Regions from separate parts of the Homo sapiens genome. Here region 1 is linked to region 2. Evidence: promoter capture Hi-C in human tissues and cell types (Jung and others, 2019). All regions are on one chromosome and are shown on one strand. Each heading gives the region's core, a stretch centred on a gene start or on the middle of the fragment in contact. The rest is flanking DNA. Distances are from core to core; before and after follow the strand shown.

Region 1 (3,807 bases), core at 982-3,481, 150 kb after region 2:
GCCTCCCTATTTCCTAAGACAGAGCAGTATTAAAATTAGGCCAATTAATAACCCTACAATGGCCTCTAAGAGTTAAAGTGAAAGAAAAAGTTGCATAAGTCTCACTTTTCAATCAAAAACTAGAAATGATTACATTTAGTAATGAGGAAGGCATGTTGAAAGCTGAGATAGGCCAAAAGTTAGGCCTCTTGCACCAAATAATTAGCCGAGTTGTGAATGGAAAGGAAAAGTTCTTGAGGGTAATTAAAAGTGCTACTGCACTGAACACACAAATGATGAGAAAGTGAAACACCTTTATTGTTGATATGGAGGAAGTTTTAGTGGTCTGGCTAGAAGATCAAATCAGCCACAATATTCCTTTAAGCCAGAGCCTACTATAGAGCAAGCCCCTAACTCTTTTTTATTCTCTGAAAGCTTGGAGAGGTGAAGATGTGCTAGAAGGGAACTTGGAAGCTAACAGAGATTAGCTCATGAGGCTTAAGGAAAGAAGCCATCTCTATAACCTAAAAGTGCAAGGTGAAACGGCAGTGGCTGATGTAGAAGCCACAGCAAGTTATTCAGAAGACCTAGCTAAGATTATTGATGAAGGTGGCTATGTTAAACAACAGATTTTCAATGTAGATGAAATTGGAAAAAGATGCCATTGGGCTTTTATAGCTAGAGAGGAGAAGTCAATGCCTGGCTTGAAAGGATAGGCTTACCCTTCTGTTAGGTGCTAATGCAGCTGGTGGCTTTAAGTGGAAACCAGTGCTCATTTGCCATTCCAAAAATCCTACAGCCCTTAAGAATTATGCTAAATCTATTCTGCCTTTGCTCTGTAAATGGAACAGTAAAGCCTGAGTGACAGCACATCTGTTTACAACATGGCTTACTGAATATTTTAAGTCCGCTGTTGAGACTTACTGCTCAGAAAAAATATTCTTTTCAAAATATTACTGCTCATTGACAATGCAGTGGGGTCACTGAAGAAGCTGACAGAGATGTAAAAAGAGAATAATGTTTTCATATTACTAATGCAATACCTATTCTGCAGCATATGGATCAAGGAGTAATTTTGACTTTCAAGTCTTATTATTTAAGAAATGCATTTTCTAAGGCTGTGGCTGCCATAGGTAGTGATTCCTCTGATGGTTCTGAGCAAGGTGAATTGAAAGTCTTTTGGAAAGAATTCACCATTCTGGATGCCATTAAGAACATTTGTGATTCGTGGGAGGAGGTCAAAATAGCAACATTAACAGGACTTTGAAAGAAGTTGATTCTGATACTTATAGATGACTTTGAGGAGTTCAAGACTTCAGTGGAGGAAGTCACTGCAGATGTGGTGCAAATAGCAAGAGAACTAGAATTAGAAGTAGAGCCTGAAGATGTGACTGAGTTGTTGCCATCTTAGGATGAAACTTTCACAAGTGAGGGGTTGCTTCTTATGTGCAAAGAAAGTGGTTTCTTGAGATGAAATTGACTCTGGGTTAAGATAGCTGTGAACATCGTTGAAGTAAAAACAAAGGACTTCGAATATTCCATAAGCTTAGTTGATAAAGCAGCGGCAGAGTTTAAGAGAATTGACTCCAATTTTGAAAGACGTTCTGCTATGGGCAAAATGCTATCAAACAGCATCACATGCTACAGATAAGTTTTTTGGGAAAGGAAGAGTCAACTAATGCAGCAAATTTTATTGTCAGCTTATTTTAAGCAATTATCATAGCCATTCCAGCCTTCAGCAGCCACCAGCCACCCTGATCAGTCAGCAGCCATCAACATCCATGCAAGACCCTCCGTCAGCAAAAAGATTATGACTCACTGAAAGCTCAGATTACTGTTATCATTTTAAGTAATAACGTATTTTTAATTAAGGTATGTAAATTGATTTTTAGCATAATGCTATTGTACAGTTAATAGACTACAGTATAGTGATAGCTTTTATATGTACTGGGAAACCAAAACGTTTATGTGACTTACTTTTTTGCAACATTCACTTTATTGTCGTAGTTTGGAACTGAATTTGCAATGTCTTTGTGATATGCCTGTATAACATTTTTTATTGAGTCCTCATATGACTAGATAGAGTCTTGATTACAGCATTATAATCACAATATTTAAAAAATTATTATATATATTAGGACTTTTTTGACAGTGGTTGCAAAGAATTGTTTCCTTCAGTGGCTTTGAACTTGAGGTTGTTCAAGCTTGTAGGTTAAAGTTTATTACATCATCTTTAATATTTTGTCACTATTTATTCTGAATACTTGGTTCTCACAATATTCTCAAAATTGTCCCATTTTCAGATCTTAGAAACTTATATTCATTTGTTAAAGAGGAATATAGTCTCTAGCATGGGGAAATTCATTGTCTCATGCTTATCACATGTGGCTGTTTCTGTCAGTGATACTTTTACAACTCTTAATGCATCAGTTCCCAAACTATTCTGGGGAATAGTTGTTCTATGAGATACTGATGGTTGTTCTGTGAGAGGATTATAAAGTATAAAAGTGTGGGAAATACTGTATAATTTATTCTTCAGAATTTAAAATAAATTTTAGCATATTAGATAATACAGTAAATGAAACTACTTAACCATATTTAATACAGTCAGGCTATATTTATTGTATGGAAGACTGCATTTCTTTTAGATGGATTTACCTATTAAAATACCTATTTTGCAAAACACAATTTTGGTAATATTGTCTTACTGCAATTTTGGAAATATCTTTGAAAAGTTATTTGCAAAATTGTCTTTGGCATATTGCTGATCTATCTCCTTTAGGGAATCCATCCCTTTTAACAGCCTTCTTTCATTTTTATGCCTATCTTTATGTTATTCTAAAGAATAATATTTTCCCTTGTGGATAAATCTTGAGCATGTCTATAGAGTCTCCTGGGCCATCTGAATTATACTTAGTGGTAAGGAAAAAATTAAAATTTACCTTTTAAAGAGAGTCAATACTCTGGCTTTTATTCGTACTGGGATGTAGACTACAAGGGCACTGGGTGCTTGATCATGCAGGGTATAAGTGGCTCAATGATAACAGCATATGATGGTTCATATGCTCATTGCTCTTTTGTATTGTATTAGACTCCTGATTAGTGTCTCACTGTCTGGGTTGTCTTTGCTCTAAAGATCCTATTGATTTTTGTATTGGACACAACAGCTAATGTACTATACTGCACACACTGTTTACCTTAGTAATGCTAAAAGGCTTGATAGATATTAGCACATCCACAATACAGATCACCTTCTGCAAACACATTCTTCCCTTACACCTATCAATATGATGCCACTTGCTCCGATTTTCTTCCTACCTCTTTCTACTTTTGCTTAGTCTTCCTAACAGGATCTACTTTACCTCCTCATTCCTGTTACATTAGTATTCCTCAGGACTCTGCTTTAAGCCACCTTCTCTTTTGGTAAATATTCTTCCAATGTTCTCATCTATACCCATGTTTCCAACTACACTTTATTTGCTAATCATTCCTATTTGAAAACAATATTTACCATTGAGCATCTTGCCCTATTCTCAGTTACTGACTAGACATCTTTATTTGGATGCCATCAAGATATCCTTACATCAACATATCCAAAGCCTTCATTTCTTGTTTCTAAATACTGTTTCCCTCTTGTGCCTTTTCCTGTTCTGATGTTTGGTGCCAGCATGTACTCAGTTAGCAAGCCTTATTCCTGGGAAGCATCTTCCACATCTTTTTGTCTCATCTTTCTCAGCCCCAGTGATCACTCAGTGCCATCAATTCTGGTTTGTATACTTATCTTGAATATTCTCCTTCCTCTCTGTTTCCTCTACCTGAACAATCTTA
Region 2 (3,901 bases), core at 1,204-3,703:
ATATGTGATCTGATATGAATTTAATTGAATGTAAGCAGTGCTTGGTAGTTGTCATCTATCTAATTTAATATTTTCCTAGTTTTCAATTGTCCTGACTGACCTTTATTGCATTTGTGTTTGAAAAAGCTTTTCTCCATTCCTACAAGTGTGAATATTCAAATCCTACCCATTCCTCAAATCCCACCTGAAAACTTCTCTTTACTAAAGCTTTATTTAATCTCCCCAGCAGAGTTATTTCTCCCATTAATTTTCACAGAAATTTACTTGTACATTTCTTATAATGTATTTCACTTTATGTTGAAAAGCTATTCATATAATTTACCAAATTATAAAACATCTGTAATTGATTAATCTATTTCCTGCCCCCTGACACAAAGTAAATGTAGAAGAAAGAAGTCTAACAATGGTCTCTTGGAAATGGTGCTCTGTAAAATATGTTAATTTGACATAGACTATTCACCAAGTCTTTAACCAGACTTACCTGCTATGGACTATTTATATTCAAGTACCCAAAAGGTGAGGTAGAATCTAAGAGTGAGTTCATAAGATTGGTTATTTATACTTAGCTCTCTGTCAGAGAATGAATGCATAAACAATAGCTTTTTTTTTAAAACATCAATTTACATCTGCTTAAGTAGGACAATATATTTTCTCTTAATAACCAGAAATTGGCCTTCCTGTGAAATAACTGAATATGTATGTTTTCCTTTAGCTGGCTCCAAAACTCCTTATTAAGCACTATTTCACAGAAAATAACAAATTATATGTTATGTCTGATTGCTTAAAATAGGTATTTCTGAGTAGAAGAAAAAACACTAGAATGAAAATACTTTGAAAATATATCAATTACTTTAGCCATAAAGAGAATTCTGGAAAATAAAAGCAGATGTGAACGTGATTCAAATTTAATATATTTGAAATGTAAAGTAAAAATATAATACACCTGGATAGAATTATGCAAATTGCATGGATAAAATTTTCCCCTAGGGATAACTTCAGCGTGTTCTCTAAATCCATTTTAAAAAAAGAAAAAGTGCAGATAATCTTTTGATATTTTCTAAAACTGATGCATAGTCTTTTCTCAGTCTAATGAATTAATAAAACAAATATTCTAAAAGAATTATCATATGCAGCTCTTTATGATTATGAACTGTCTCTGTTTAATTTTTGGTAATCAAACATTTTTATTACTCCAATCATTTGACAGTGCTCTCAAAGGAATCACCTTACTATAATTGTTCTCATTCTGAGACATAAATCTCTTCATTAGATGTAAGTGTTCATTTTTTAGACAAGACTATTTTTAAACAGGCAGTATAGAATTGAATAAACAACATGAGATTAGGGTCAAAAGACTTGAATTATTAAAAATGATTTAGCAAGATATCTTGGATACATTGTCATGTTTTTGAGTTTCATTTCCTCATTTGTACAGTAGAGGGGAAATATATGTTTAACTGAGCTGTTTTGGGGATCAAACGATATAATGTGTATGAAAAAACACAAAGTACTATTTATATACCATTAATATCCTATTCAGGAAATAACTTCAGAAAAATAATCCAGTAGAAGTGACCTTTTTGTTTTCAGATACTCAAGACAAATACACATAATTACTGTGTGGGTCACAGCGTCATTTTTTTCTTTGCTTAAATAACTCTACTGACCCAAACAATTCACTAGAGATGTATGAAGTTGGAAAGATTACCATAAACTTTTAAGTCTTAACATATTTTTTGGTAGTTCGCTAATAAGGATAACAATCCAACACTTCATGTATCCCAGACCTGAAAATTATAATTTAAAAAATACACAAGCGTTAGCTTTTCAGTTTTTTCCATGTGCATCATGTTTTACTCTACAGAATGTTGACTACACGCTGTTTAAATATAATTAGCCCTACGGTATGGCATCGCGTGGATCCACGGTGACGGCTCTTTGGTCCTGCATTGTTTGAGATGCTGTAGGTGGTTCAACATTGTGTTAAGTTGCACGTACATTATTAGTTCTGTATCCGAAGACACTGGCTCTGTACCCTTTCAACAAGGCTCTGGGAGTTCCCCCAGCCAAGCAGAGACAGGGTTAAGGCAGTCCAACAGAGGAGAGTAGTGCGGTGTGTGTGTGAGTGAGTGTGCACGCGTGAGCGCACAGGACAGAGGCGTCGAGGTGCGGGGCGGACTCCTACACAAGTTCCAAAGGCCACCGTGTCCGCGGCTTTCGGCCTGAGCGGGACAGCGGGAAGCGGGTGGAACGGCCTGCACGGAGTGGGCAGCGCCCCAGGAATTTGGGGGCTGAGTTGGAGGGAGAGGGGTCTCGCGAGGGTTTCAGGGCGTGGCTGGAGTAGGGGGCGCGCGGCGAGTGTGCACGGGTGTGCGCGCGCGAGAGGGCGAGTGTGAGCGCGGCGAGTGTGAGCGCGGTGAGTGTGCGGCCGCGTCGCCATTCCCCGTGACGTCAGAGTGTATTGTTGTGAGCGGGGCCGAGCGGAGCATCCCCGGAGCTGTCACCGCAGCGGCCGCGGCGGTGGCGCAGCGCGAGCCCCGCACGAGCGAGCCCGGCCGGCGCCGCCCCCGCCCCTGGCCCGGGCCCCGCTGCTGCCGCCGCCCCCGCCCCCGGCCCGCCCGCCGCGCGCCGCCGCCGCCGCCGTCGCGCGCCCCCACCCACTCCACCCCACCCCCTCGCTCCATCCCTCCCACCCGCCGCCGCCGCCGCCGCCGCCGCCGCCGCCGCCGCCGCCACCGCCCGCGCGCCTCCCCCCGCGGAGCGAGTGCGGGTCACCGGGTCACTGGGTCATTGTCTCCGCGCCCGAACCCCGAGCACCCCGTGGAATCCCCCACGTCATCATCAGAACCATCAATGAGATGCAAACATGAAAGACAAGAGGAAGAAGAAGGACCGCACCTGGGCCGAGGCTGCCCGCCTGGTACGTACCGCCCCCCACACGCCGCCCGCGCCTCCCGCCGGCCCCGCCGCTCGCCCCGCGCCGGTCCGCGGCGGCGGAGACGGCCACTTCCAGCCCGAGCCGCCGCCCGCTCGCCGGGCTCCTGCTCTTTGTTATTCTGCGGGAGTGGGCTCGCCCGGGGGCCCCTGTGTGTGTGCGTGCGCGCGCGGAGGGGCGCAGCGATTATCTCCGGGAGCCCCGCGTCCGGGACCGCCCGGGACACTTCTCCCCGTACTTCGCTCTCGGGGCTCTGCTGTGCCTTCTCCACGGGTGAATTTCCGAGCGCTCGGCGCAGCTCGACTTCCCTCTCTGCCGCTCCGGAGACCTTTGTGTGGCAATTACCACTCCCTCCCGGCCCCTCCACCCCCCGGAATTTCATCAATAACTCTGTGCACAGTCTGTGTGTATGTTCGGCGTTTGTGAGTTCAAACATTTTACACGTGCATGCATGGTGTGTGTCCGACACGGACTTGTGGGGCGTGTGCATGTGGGCTAGGTGGTTGCGTGTCTGTGTGCCATGTCGTGTGCATTATGTGTGCACACTGATACGTGCATGTTTTGTGTGGCTCCAGTTCGTTTGTGTTTGTAGGTATTGTGCTCTGCTCGATGTTTGTGTGTACATTCTGTGCACGTGTGTGCAATTTGTGAGTGTGTTTCGGGTGTGTGTGTGTTTGGTGAAGTTGGGTCAGTGTCATTTGTAGTGGGAGGTTATTAAGAGTGTACAGCTAGGTGTATTTTACTGCTGGCTTCCTGGGCGGTGTTACTTGGCTGCTTTTCCTTTTCTTTAACCTTTCGGAGCTTACGTTTTAATCATCGAAAGAATGTCTCTATAGAAATGCCGGTTGGCAGAGGGGCGTCGGCGTCTTTGGTTTGATGCATGTATATGTGTGGGTTTTTCTTTTCTTTCTTTCTTTTTTCTTCCTATCTTCTTTTAAAGGACAGCTGTAAAAGGATTTTTCAAAA

The links. The method cuts DNA at HindIII sites, captures the fragments that hold promoters and counts their contacts. A contact is called where the count stands out against the background at its distance.
Region 1: a contact is called between a fragment that was not itself captured here and the fragment with the promoter of ASXL3 in region 2, in 1 of the 25 tissues and cell types used here (bladder).

Annotation. Positions count from the first base shown.
Region 1 is chr18:33,722,132-33,725,938 of GRCh38, forward strand. The region is part of intron 8 of ASXL3 (ASXL transcriptional regulator 3); the gene reads left to right. Among named protein-coding and RNA genes, the nearest start is that of ASXL3, 150 kb to the left of the region's middle. The HindIII fragment of the contact is 5,250 bases long and covers 1-3,807 here.
Region 2 is chr18:33,575,766-33,579,666 of GRCh38, forward strand. ASXL3 (ASXL transcriptional regulator 3) reads left to right here and starts at 2,454. Exons shown (of 12, transcript NM_030632.3): 1 at 2,454-2,920. The coding sequence starts at 2,867. RefSeq lists enhancers at 1,794-2,782, 2,783-3,770. The HindIII fragment of the contact is 10,160 bases long and covers 1-3,901 here.